Regions from separate parts of the Homo sapiens genome. Here region 2 is linked to region 1. Evidence: promoter capture Hi-C in 16 types of primary human blood cells and fetal thymus (Javierre and others, 2016). All regions are on one chromosome and are shown on one strand. Each heading gives the region's core, a stretch centred on a gene start or on the middle of the fragment in contact. The rest is flanking DNA. Distances are from core to core; before and after follow the strand shown. Region 1 holds the start of FFAR4 (free fatty acid receptor 4). Region 2 has its middle 23 kb from the start of SLC35G1.

Evidence for each region. The method cuts DNA at HindIII sites, captures the fragments that hold promoters and counts their contacts. A CHiCAGO score of 5 or more calls a contact.
Region 2: a contact is called between a fragment that was not itself captured here and the fragment with the promoter of FFAR4 in region 1, in 2 of 17 cell types (total B cells and neutrophils). The highest score is 6.8, in total B cells.

The regions. Positions count from the first base shown.
Region 1 is chr10:93,565,317-93,571,867 of GRCh38, reverse strand. It overlaps FFAR4 (free fatty acid receptor 4), which reads right to left and starts at 5,203. Exons shown (of 3, transcript NM_001195755.2): 1 at 4,581-5,203. The coding sequence starts at 5,147. RefSeq lists an enhancer at 4,963-5,801. The HindIII fragment of the contact is 8,015 bases long and covers 2,977-6,551 here.
Region 2 is chr10:93,867,653-93,874,575 of GRCh38, reverse strand. No RefSeq gene overlaps it. Among named protein-coding and RNA genes, the nearest start is that of SLC35G1, 23 kb to the left of the region's middle. The HindIII fragment of the contact is 4,424 bases long and covers 1-4,222 here.

The DNA of each region.
Region 1 (6,551 bases), core at 3,954-6,453:
ACCCTTGGTAGATCCTTGTTCCTGTGTCTCACCTCTGCCATCAACATGGAAGACTTCAAGATTATTTTAAGAACCTAGGAGTCCTAGTTGGATATTTCATCTTCTATCAGCTTCCCAGCAAAAAAGAGAGAAAATATTAATGCAAGAGATGCTTCCTTTCTTATATTTCAAAAGTATTCTCTAATCATAACAAAAGCAAGCAAACTGTGTTTGTTTCCTCAGACAATCCACACTCAGCAGAGACACATGAACGTTCACATGACTAGCCTGGTATTAAATTAGGGTAGGGTGGGGCAGTGGGATCAAGTGCCGCAAGGGAGTATAAACCCAAGGGTGACGGTATCCAGAGGGACCCAAAAGAGTGGGGCTAAATTCTGGTTCCATCTCTTGCAATTCTGTGACCTTAGGGATTTCCTCTTTTAGAATAAACAAAAGAATATGGGGTGGGGTGACTGTGAGGACCAAATTAGGCCAGAATCTAGGACCATCTGTGTGCTTCTCCTTGAAGAGAAGGAGGTGGATTTACGTGATTTGTGGCAGGGGCAAGAGGGGAAGGGTGCTTAGTAAATGTTTGCAGAATGAATGGGCAGCACATTCTGGCCAGGATAGACAGTCTTCTCCACCTGCCGATGTGGGTCACTGCCCAGCCAGGTCCACAGCACACACAGGCTGGAATCCTGTTGAAGCAGGGTGAGCTGACCTGGCTGAGATGTCAACGTTGCTAGGATGTGTTCGCCCTCTTAAAATGGCAGTCTGTTATTTTACAGCAATCAGAAGAATTATACTGTTTGAAGAATGTTTAAAATGTCTATGTTCAAAGATAAGGAAACTAATAATAGCTAGCAATTCTTATGTGCTTAACTGTGTATGTGCCAGGTGTTGGCCCATTTACTGAACATGAGTGCCCATGATGATCCGGTAAGGTTGGTTGATACTGTAATCATGCCCATTTTGCAGAAGAGGAAAGTGAGGTATTGAGAGGTTAGACAGCTTGGATTCTGTCATGAAGCTCCCGAATGGCAGAGATGGGATTTAAACAGAATGTTTGACTCCAAAGCCCACTCCAAATACCAAGTTGTCTCACATTTCTAGGATATTTATCACCTCATCTTCTCTTCAGTGAAGTTTTAGAGTCTGATTACCATGAACTACTGGGCACCCACAGCCCACATGGACAAGAGATTGAGTTTCTGTTTCAGGAAGGCTCTTGGGTCGGCAGAAGCTCTAAGGGGCAGTTTCCTTGGCCAGCGCTCCTTGAGGGGAGGGAGCCAGTATCTGCTTAGGCTTGGTTGATTCTCTCAGCGTGTGGTTTGGGTTAGGAAAATATCCCCCATCCCAAACCTCCATATTTAGTCTCTAAGTGGGATGGGGCAGACAGAATCCACAAGCAGAAAGCTGGGAATATGGGGATTGAGAAAACAAGCCTTTGCTAATTTTAAATGTGAGACTCAGTCAGTCTAGACCAGATCCTCCTGTTGCTTTTTTTTTTTTAATGACTACACTCCCCCTTTGTTTTTTTCTGTCTCTCATTCTTTTCAACTTATTTCTTCAACTGCTGAACCTATAATATTGGATGTTTTCTATGTATTCAGGCAACAACCCTTAGGAAATTGGGTTTTTTCTGTTTGTTGGGTTCCTGGGCAGGTAGGTGTGAAAGTGTGTGTGTGTGTGTGTGTGTGAGAGAGACAGAGACAGAGAGAGAGAGAGATGAGGTGGATGTGGCAGACAGGTAGGAAAGAAGACAAAGAAGATGGAGAGCCAGAAAGGATTGTCCCATTTTTTTTAATTTAAAAAAAATTTTTTTTTTTTGAGATTGAGTCTTGCTTTGCTGGCCAGGCTGGAGTGCAGTGGTATCATCTCAGCTCACTGCAACCTCCACCTCCTGGGTTCAAGCAATTCTCCTGCCTCAGCCTCCCTTGTAGCTGGGACTACAGGTGCATGCCACCACACCCAGCTAATTTTTGTATTTTTAGTAGAGATGGGGTTTCACCACGTTGGCCAGGCTTGTCTCCAATTCCTGACCTCAAGTGATCCGCCCACCTCAGCCTCCCAAAGTGCTGGAATTACAGGTGTGAGCCAGCATGCCCAGGGATTTTTTTTTTTTTTTAATTTCAAGCTTTCCCACCTCACCTCTACTAATTTCAGTGAGTAGGGCTCCTGTGGGTAACTAACTCACCTGGCCCCCAGTGCACACTGCAGCCTCATTCTCTCCCAGTGGCTTTGCCCAAATCCCTCTCCGAAGCTGCTTAAAACCAAGGAAGTGTTTCAACATTAAAACAAAGGAGGTCTGTGTGCCCAGCCATCACAACACAGACCTCCACGGAAGCACCTTACAGCACAACTGTGGCCACTCTGGAAGCACCACAGAGGGCTCTAACCACACCCAGATTCCCTAACAGTGGTGCGGTACTAAGTGGCCAAGACATGGAAGGCCCCTGCCTATGCCAAGGCCTTCTCACCCAAACAGTCACCTGTGTCCCTGTCAGCACACAATTTTAGTCTGGGCTCTGGCTGGGAAGTGACAAGAGTCTTATTTTTTAATGTCATTTGCCAATTAATTAGGGTTATACTTGAAATCACTGAAAAAAGGGAGAGGCACAAAATACACATCTGAAAACTTAAGATACCTTCAAGATACATTCTATCTGGTCTTTCATTCCCTGAACATCATTTTCTCCTGTAAGAAAGAAAATGAGGTGAAATACCTCAAGTTCTGTGAGAAATATAGAAGTACTGTGACTCACTGAGAGAATAACTTTTAAAAAAATCAAAGAAACTGATGGCAGAAGCCCAGCCCCCTCCTGATCCTTGCTTTTAGAGGCATCTGCGTGGCCCACCTTGATTCTCAGGTGTGTGTGGGCTAAGAACAAGCCTGTCCACTAAGCCAGAGCCCTTGGTCTGCCCATAAATGGCACCCACCAGCTCAGCTAATCCTGGCTTCTCTGGGCCCCACTTGAGTGGACATGGCCACAAGCTTGCATGTTATTTGATCAAGTGCCACAGGCTTGATGGGGCTCCTGCCTATTAGTCATTCAAGCTCATAAACAAACAAACACCCCACAATGTATTCCACACAAGCATTAGAAACAAGTGTTTAAGTTTGATTTATGTTTAAAAAAAAAAATCTCGCACAGGATACAGGAGGCAGACTCCATCCATCCTACCCCCAATAAAAGGGCTGTGTGAGAGACTGGTCTGGGAAAACCCCCAGAGAAGCTCCACCTCTCTGTCTCAGGCTCTGGAGGGTCACACAGTCAGGGGGTGTCCCTGGTGGGCTGTGTGCATCTCCATAACCAAGCCTTCCCCTGGTGACATGTCATTTCTCCCTCCCTACTCCCCTCTCTGACCACTTCGAAGGTCCCTCTTTGGGACCGTGATTCCTGTTTGTGCCACGATTACTCAGGGCGCCCCATATTCACTCCTAGGTGGAGAGGGAGCTTAAGGGTAGGGGGTTCCAGGCCGGAAAACCAGTGACCCCGGCAGGGAAGGGGAGGCCAAGAACCCAGCCACGGGCAGAAGCTCCTGGAGGCTGAGCCCCCAGCGCACAGACCTAAGTCCTTTCTCTATCTCTCTCCGCGAGGCATGGAGAACCAAACACACTGGGAAGACAGCCAGACGGCGGCCACTGTCCTCCACCGTGACTCCGCGTCTAGATTCCCTCTTCCGTGTGGATCCCGGCGCACGAACCCTGCAACCACCGGGCAAAGCGGCAAGAGAAAAAGACCCGAGCTCGGGATTCCGGACCGCGGGACTTGAGGGGAACAGAGCCAATGTCCTGCACTATCCGCAGAACCTTATTCCGATCATGGTCACTCCCACCCCTATGAGCTAATAATGACAACTATTGACCCGCTATGTAAAACAGAGCTCGTCGGTCCAGCCTCTGTAATCTGCACATTTCAGGCGCCCAGGACACCTCGAAGGTCTAGTGTAATCCTTCCGTTTTGCAGCTGAAAAAACTGAAGACCCCGGAAGGGAATTCTGTCACAAGTCCCCTAAAGACAGCATTGCATCTGGGGTCCCCGGGTCTCACATGCCTGTCCGCGCGCTTTCAAAGCAGGACCATAACCCAACCCTGGACAGGAGCCCAACTCCTCCTTGAATTACGGGTAAACTTCTGGAAGGAGCCCATCTCCTCCTCGAATTACGGATAAAATACTCTGGGCAAGTTATTATACACTTCGGTGTGCCTCTGGTTCTCATCTGTGAAATGGGTGTGATAATAACAGTATTGTAGCACCTGGCGAGGAATCATGATTCAATACAAAGTGTTTGGCCACCCTGCACCCCCAAAGTTCCGTCTCGCTCCTAAACTACTCGTTAATTAACCTCGCAACAGTCATTGCATTTTGCAAGAATTTGGGGGACTCCACTTACATCATTTAGGAGGGCGTGTGCACAGCGTTGTAGTGAGATTTAAGAGATTAAACTTCACAGCCATGGGCACAAGATTTGGCACAACGATTAAGTGCAATAAATGGCTATTGTTGTTCTTGATCATCCTCATCCCAGCTTCCGTCGGGGCCCCGCTTCCCAGCCTGCGCAGGACACCTGCCCGGCACACACAGAGGGGCGCTCACCTGGTCGGCGCCGGGGAGCCGTTGCGGGACGACTCGGAAGAAGACGCAGAGAGGCAGAGCGGCGACCGCCGAATAGCCCCAGATGAGCGCCAGCAGCACTGCCCGCGCCCGCCGCCCAGGACCCCGCACGCCGCGCTGCAGGTGCACGATGCACACCATGCGCTCCAGGCTGACCGCGGCCAGCGTGAGGATGGTGACGCTGCCGCTCAGGGTCATCACGTAGAAGAGCAGGTGGCAGGCAACGGGGCCCAGCAGCCAGGCCTCAGTCCAGCGCACGGCCAGCACCAGAGGGATAGCGCTGATGAAGAGCAGGTCCGCGCAGAAGAGGTTGAGTACCAGGCAGGCAGTCGCGCCGCGGCGTCGTCGGCGCGCCACCAGCACCAGGGCGCACACGTTGCCCAGCAGCGACACTGCAAAGATGAGCACCAGCACGGTTGTCTCCACCGCGGCCAGCACCAGCCGGTGGTCGCCCTTGACGTCGGAGAAGAAGGGAAAGCGGGTGCGGTTGGCTTGCTCCAGGCTGCGCAAGGGCGCGTCGCCCGCTGCCCGCGCGCATTCAGGGGACATTCCCGGCGCCTGGCGGCCCGCAGCGGTCTGAGAGAGTGCTCATCTGGGAGGCGACTGAGTGCCAAGGCGGGGAAAGAGGGAGGGAGGCGGTTGCGACATCTCGCCTCTGGCCCCCTCCCTTCTGAGGAGCGCCAGCACTGGGTGCAGGGAGCTGCACCCGGGGCGCGCGGGAACCAGGAAGTGCCCGGCAACACTGGCCGCGAACACCGCAGCTGGCCGGGGAGGTGGCGGCCAAGGCGGAAGCCTCGTGCCCTCTGGCCCTTTGAAAGTGTATCCAGAAGCCAGAAAACTCACTTAGCGAATTCCTCGAGCCCCCGCAGGGCCTGCCCAACCTCCTTTATTTTTCAGGGACACTGGATGTGCGAAGCCTTTTGTGAACGGATTTAGCTAAAATTGATTTAAAAGGGTCAGAGCTGGCCTTTGGAGATTATTTTGGCCTGTGTCGTTCAGGCTTTACTAAAGAAACTCCATGGGTCTGGAGGTAGATCCTAAAACAACTTGTAATGAGTCCATATTTTTTGTGGGGGAGAGAGGGAGTGGAGATCTTTTATCACTACTTAATAACAGGTCTTTAGGTGGATTATCTACTCCCTCTACCCCAGATTTTTAATCTATAAAATGGGAATAATAATACCCCATTAGGTTATTGTGAGGCTCACCTAGAGTTTTGCACACTTGGCACACAGTAATTACTCGTTAAATGTTATCAAATATTAGTTATTGTAACTAAAATGCATATACATTTTGCATTCTGAACAATGACATAAATGCTTTCTTATAAAAAGAGTGAGTCCTTCCAAAATTTTTAATAAACTTGCCATCCAAGGAAGACAGATATTTCAAGGCTGGCAGATTCACACACAAGCTATGAATGTGCCCCAGGTGCCACAGTTTGAGGAGCACTGGGCAATCCAGTCCCGTTAGAGATAAGGAAACTGAGGCCCAGCCAGAGTGACTTGTCTAAGCTGTCCTCTGGTTAGTAATGAAAGCCAGTCACCTGTCCCCGTCCCACACATTTCCATCACACCACTGCAGTCTCGTTTTCTGTAAATGAGGAAGCTGGAGATGGAAAAGTATGCCTGTGGCCTAAGATCCAGTGGCCACTTCCCCAACCAGCCACCCTCCTGCCACCCACACCTTCACCCCCTCTTCCCTCTGCCATATTACCAGGCCTCTCCCAGTTGCCCACTCTGTCTTCTAATTGTCTTTCTTAAGGTTGGGTCTTAAGAAATCTAAGCACTGACTGGGCACAGTGGCTCATGCTTGTAATCTCAGCACTTTGGGAGGCCAAGGCGGGTGGATCACTTGAGGTCGGGAGCTCCAGACCAGCCATGGCCAACGTGGTGAAACCCCGTCTCTACTAAAAATACAAAAATTAGCTGGGCATGGTGGCAGGTACCTGTA
Region 2 (6,923 bases), core at 761-3,260, 310 kb before region 1:
CTCTGGAGTTGTCTTTAATGGGGTAATTTCAGCTGGCAGCTGGTGCAACCTTGAAATGATCCTGTTTATTTTTCCTCCTCCCCGATGTGTAGAGGTCACTGCTGATAATAATGTGATTGCTATTCATTATTATCTGGATATGATAACATGGCAGAACTACCTCAAAATGCTCTTTTTGGAAATCTTGACATTGACTGTGCAGATACAGTTGGGTCACACTAGACATACATTTTGAAGTCAAAGATATTTACATTTTAGAAATAAAAATGACCCATATGGTGACATTTTGGGCTGTATGATTTACCAAAAACAGAAGAAAAATGACCTACATGGGTGGTGGATGGAGAACAAGCATTGTTATGCTTTTTCCATTTTGTAGCTGTTTAATTGAATAAATAAACATTCATTATTCAAACTGCCTGGGTTTGAATCTTGGCTCTGCCTCTGCCAGTTGTGTGTTCTTTGACATACTCATCTCTCTGTGCTGAACTTGAATCATCTACAAAAATAGGGCTAGTAATAGTATTTACCACACTACCATGTGAGGATAAAATGAGCTTATGTATGTAAAATGCTTAGAACAATGTCTGGCAGACCGTAAGTTCTATGTAACTGATGACTTTGAATGTTTCAGGATTGTGTTCCCTCTTGACAAATCGCTTCCTTTCCTACCCCTCTGACCTCCCCTGACTGAGTTAGCCACCCTCTGCCATGTGCCTCTCTGACATCCTTTCTTCCCCCAAGGCTAAACAACACTTAAACAGAATTGTGTCTTTAATTAACTGTGTCGTCCAAGAGCTAGAAGCTCTGAGTGGACAGAGACTTGGTCAGTCTTCATCATTAAATCCTCATGTGTTCGATGACTTACTCACCTGTGTGTGCCCTAAGCAAGGCAGAGTAAGGCTGCAGAAGTGGCCAACCTAATTTAATGGGGAACACAGAGAGGGCAGCAGTTTGCTGAGATTTACTAAGACTTTGCAGGAACTCTTGAGAAGAAAACTGCTGAGTCACAGGCATGCATTTTGAACAGAGAATAATCTTAACTTGAGATCTTGCAACATTGCTTGGGCACGTAGCTGTTACTGGCTGCCCCACCTGAAAACAAAGGCGTACAAATACTAATTATCTTAGCTTTAAACTCTTTCATTGGAAGTAATGGGACTCACTTGAACAATAATATAATATATAGTTTCAAGTAGCTACAAGGAAGATATTGAATGTTCCCACATTCACACAAAGAAATGATAGATGTTTGAGATGTGGATATGCTAATTACCATGACCTGATCGCTCTACATCATATGTATAAAAAATCACAATGTACCACCAAAATTTTTACAAATATTATATGCCATTAAAGAACATTTTTTAAAAGGTTAAAAAAGAAGAAAACAGTGGGTTTGTAGACAAAAATGTTAAGATTTTATGTAGTAATCTATGATTCTGGTTTCCAAACACAATGGACTTGGGAATATGAATATATTCATATTGTAAGGAAAGGGGGTGGGTGGACAGGGATGTAAGTAAGGACATACAGGGTGTGTCCCAGAAGCCAAGGGCAGGAATACAGGGTCTGCCTGTGAGGAAATGTCTGGAGCTGAGCCACCCTCTCAGTCTCTTATTTCTTTCTGGGGCCAGATGGTTCCTTGATGCTAGGGCTCCCTGACCATCTGTTTCTTTTTTCACTCTCTTCAGGCTGCCTCTCTTTACTTATCTATTGAGTGGAAGAAAAACCCCCAGCTCCTGGAGTTATGTGCACCTCACTTCCAGCTGCACGCTGAGAATAACTAGCCATTGCTTAGCCACTAAACTTGGCTTCTAGGGAGACTCTGATTGGTTAAAATAGAGCCAGATGTCTCTTTCCATCTTATTCATAATTGCCAAGGTTGTCTATTACAAACATGATTGCCAGGTGAGCAATTCACTCCGAACAGGCTCACTGAAGAACAGGCAGAGACTCCAGTATCTAAACAATGTAATTTAAAATGGTCCCCAATGTTATGCAAGGTTGAGTCAGGCAAATAACAGCATAGAGTACAGAGTTTGTCTTAGCCAACCAGAAACCACTGGGTTTCAATAGATTGTAGGAATTGTCCCTGTGATGGCATTAAAAACATACAAACCAACCAACCCTCTTGGATGGGGTGTTATTCAGATGTACTATGTAATTCTCTGAAAACAGGAATTCCTCCCTTTGTCTGGAATTCTCTTCCTCTCCTTATACATTAGACTGATCCCTAATTATTATACATCTTTCAGATCTTAGTTTGATGCACAAACTCAGGCATGCAAAATACAAAAATGTAGTTTTCTACAAATGAACTTAATTTCTCTGATGAGCCCCCTTTCTGATTTCAGTGGTAGCCATTTAATCTTAGTCAATCAGGGATTCCCACTTTCCCAGGGATTCCCAGTTTCCTAGTGTTGCACCAGAGTTTAGTATCTAGCACTGGTAATGGTGGTGGAGGTGGGTAGTAGGGGGGCAGCTGGAATTCCTGATTGGTGTTTACTGGCATCTCCTAGCAAGTCCTCATTCCCACCTGGTCTTTAGTTGTTAATACACATAATCCCAGCTGAGTCATTCTGTTATCAAACTGGACTTGGGTCTGCCTGCCTGGTATAGCAAAGCCAAGCACTGACATAAGGATTGCAAAAAAAGAAAGTGAAGCATTTATTGCAGGGTGCCAAGCAAGGAGAATTGGGAAGACCCAAACTCCCTTATGGCTTACAGGTAAAGGGTTTTAAAGGCAGGGAGGCCGAGGTTACAGGAGTCATTAATCAATATATGGTGGTTATACATTGGTTTGACCTAAAGAGGTGGGGTATCTTGAAGCATGGGGCTTACAGGTCATAGGTAGAGTCGAAGGTTCTCTGATATGTAGCTAGTTAAGGAAGGTGAGCTTTGTTTAAACATTTGGAATCAGCAGACAAGAATGTTAGCTCTGGCTTATGGATGTGACTTCCTCCAGGCCCCTTAGGAAGAACTTCAGAACAAAGAACGGCCATCTACATGCCAGTGGGTTCATTTGTCAGGTTTCTGAAGAACAACTCACGGACATATGTTAAGATGTTATTTTTTGGCCGGGCACGGTGGCTCACACCTGTAACCCCAGCACTTTGGGAGGCCAAGGCGAGCAGATCACGAGGTCAGGAGATGGAGACCATCCTGGCTAACACGGTGAAACCCTGTCTCTCTACTAAAAATACAATAAAAAATTAGCCGGGCGTGGTAAAGGGCGCGTGTAGTCCCAGCTACTAGGGTGGCTGAGGGAGGAGAATGGCGTGAACCCGGGAGGTGGAGCTTGCAGTGAGCTGAGATCACACCACTGCACTCCAGCCTGGATGACAGAGCAAGACTCCGTCTCAAAAAAAAAAAAAAAAAAAAAAGATGTTATTTTTTTATTTCTATAGGGAACAAAACATCTCATGACTCTAACTTCCTTGGCTATTTATTTATTACTTTCTTGCTTAGCAAGTTGCTTATGTACTTCTTAAGGCTAGCTAGATGCCTGGAATTTCTCTTGAAGGAACTCAGACTTTTTTTATTTCCAGGCTCAGGCTGGGGTGCAGCTGCAGGCCTCTAAGAGGAGTCCCTGTTCCATCTCAATCCCTCCTCCTGAACACTGCACTCTGTTGGGTCTGAGGCTCTCTTGACTCACCCGGGCACCTTCTTAGGAGCCTGGGATTCTTGGTGCTCCACATCATACCAGACCCACAGGAACTCTATGAGGTGTTTGCTGTCCTGCACCATGTCTGGACTGTATTTGTTCTGGGAGATTATCTATTGTCCCTATACTTAGCTGGGTATAGGGAACCCCCAGTGAAGATGTCTCAGGCCCAGGCCACCATAGCTATTTATAGTCTGCAGTCTAGCCGATAGTCCCTTCCCTGAGCTCAGAATCCCAAATAGAGTTTCTACTGTTTGCCTTTCTTGGGCTCTTCTGGAGAGAGGCAGCTTAAATCCCACCTGCATTTAGAACCCCAAACCTATCTAGGATTTCTGTTCTTCCCCTCTCCTATGATTAGGCATCCCAGGAGAGAAGCAGGGTGAAGTTTACTCTTAGAACCAAGCAGAGCCAATCTACTCACTAGCTCAGGCCAGAAAAACTTTATCTAGTCTGGGGGTAACAGGTAGAGGAGGGAGGTGGGATGGGATAAGGAAGTATGAAAGAGATGGACAAGGAATAAACAAAGAAATAAATGCAAGAATGAAAAAATAAGCTTTGCATAGCTTTCTATGGCTTTGTCTATCCATGCCAAAAGTCTGGAAGTTTCATTTAATGAATCTTTTACCCACTTGAGAAATCAGTGGTCACTGGGAGTCAGCAAGAATTCACTAGCTGAATTAATTTTATTCCTTTTTTGATGAATTATGAAGCTGGAAGATCACGGCAATGCTGGAGACAATTAAGACAATTACTGGATTTCAATGGAGCAAGTAGGGAAGCAGTGGTCACTGGGAGTCAGTCAGAATCCTTAGCATTATTAGTTCTTTTCGATGCATTCTTTCATTTAATCCCAAAACAACCCAATGACTGGAAGAAAATTAAATGTATCCTGAATGTCAACTACAGCTTTTGTACAGCTAAAGAAACTGAATCGCAGGCAGATATTATAATTTCTCTAAGACTACATGGGTGGTGTTTCCGTTAAAACCCTCTCAGCAGCAAATGACACTGGAATCCTACTCAAACTGAGTATTTTAACTATCTATTGCTATATACCACTCCATAACTTAGCATTTTGGAATATACCACTCCATAACTTAGCATTTTGTTTATTTGCAATTTGGGCAGGGTTCAGTGGGGAAAGCTTGTCAACTATGGCTGGAAGTCTCACTTCCAGGGGGGCTCACTCATGTGGCTGGTGGGGTTGTGCTGGGAGTCTCAGTTCTTGCTGTCAGCTGGGGTCCTTGGTCCTTCACAAGGCCTTTCTACATAGTTAGCTTGTTCTCATAGCATGATAGTCTCAGGGTAGTTGCACTTCTGCAGTGGTTGGTTTCCAAGTGTGCCATAGCTGAAATCTGAAGGCTGATGCCCAGAACTTGCACGCCGTCATCTTTATCACAATTTATTGTTTAAAGAGAGGCAAGGGGTCAGCCCAGATTCAAGGACAGAAGGCTACACAAGGTATGAATACCAGGAGGCCTGGTTCATTGGAGGTCACTAAAGTGGTAATCTAACCACATTGGACTAAGGATTTTACTGATTCACATTACCAGCAGGTCCAAGAAGTATAGCTGGTGCGGGCATGTCAATGACAAGGCACTCAAGTGAGATCAGCAAGAATATGCTACTCTTTGCCTTCCACTCCTGCTTCCTGTGGAGACATCATTCTCAGACAGGCTTCTTGCTAATGGTGGCAAGGTGGCTATCATATTTCTGATGTTCAAGGAGCCATGTGGGATTATGTGTCCACCTATGCACCCATGCTATGACTTGGAGGATAGAATATGCTAACTAGGTAGTCTGGGCCATATCTTCATCTATGGTATGTTCTATTAATTATCTACCTACCCAACAGTGTTTCCTGGCTCTCTTCTCCTTTGATTGAAAGCCTGAAACCAAATTTTCAGTTTCTCAGTTTCTCTCCCAGCTCCATGTGACTGAGTCTGGCCAATGAGGTGAAAGGAGATGTGATTTTTCTGGACTTTCAGGGAAGATTTTTCTTCCCTAGTTAAAAAAAAAAAAAACTAGTCTCCTTATACATATACCTCTTCTCCCACCAGCAACTTCCTGCTTTGATACTAATGTGTGAGAATGAAAAGACTGTAGTATGACAATGAGGAGAAGACCATGAGAATCTCAGATATGCAGACCTAGAGTCTGGTATCATTCAACCACTGGTCAAATGCAGAAATCTCCTACACCCAAACAATAAGTATCTTGACAGTTTAAGGCACTTATGATTGAGTTTTCCCTTGCATCATAAGTAAACACCATTCCTGGGGCTGGGAAGGTGGATCCAAACTTGCTTAACCGTATGGACTGTGAGTGTAGGAGGGGTGGTTCCCCAAAGGAAAATAGGACAGTTACTAGAGGAAGGGGGGAATGAGTAGATGCTGTGCAGGTGGAAAGTGTCCCTTTCACCTGGAAAGTCCTGGGGAGAGGAATTGGTGTCAGGTTAGTCTGCTCTCAGAGCCTCATGAAATCAGCATTGTTATACTCAGTTTGCACATTAAGAAATGGAAGCTGAAGGAAATTAAGAGAATTGTTCATTGTCACTCAACTCATTCGCTGCAGATCTGAGAATACTACCCAATTCCTTGCATTTTTATGTCATTGCTGCTTCCATGAAGCAGCACAAAGCAATAGGGATAACTAATTACCTTGAAAGAGAATTAAACTCCCAAAGGATTTTGATAAGCTGGAACAATAGGCTAAATCTTGGCGGAACATGAGAGAAAAAGATTGAGAAGTATTACTTGATTATAAAATCAACATGAATCATTGGGGTAACATGGCAGCCAAAATAGTCAATGTGAGCTTGAATTGCATTAATTAAGGATGACATTTAATTGTTATACTCTGTTTACTATATTAATTACCTATAGCCACATAACAAATTATGCTCAAAACTTAGCAGCTTGAACCAAATATTTATCATCTCACAGTTTCTGTGGGTCAGGAATTTGAGAGTGGCTTCTTGTGGGTGGCAGGGGCTTGGGGAGGATTTTGGTTCAAGATCTCTCATGAGGCTGCAACAAAACTTTCAGCCAGGGATTCTGTCATTTGAGGGCTTGACTGGGGCTGGAGGATCCACTTCCAAGCTCACTCATGTGACTGTCTGCAGGGAGTTTCAGTTTCTCACTGTCTGTTGGCTGGAGGCTCAGTTCCTCACCAAATATGTCCTCTCCGTAGGGCTTTTTGAGCTTCCTCATGACAAGGAAGCTGGCTTCCCCCAGAGCCAAGAGAGAGCAAGCAG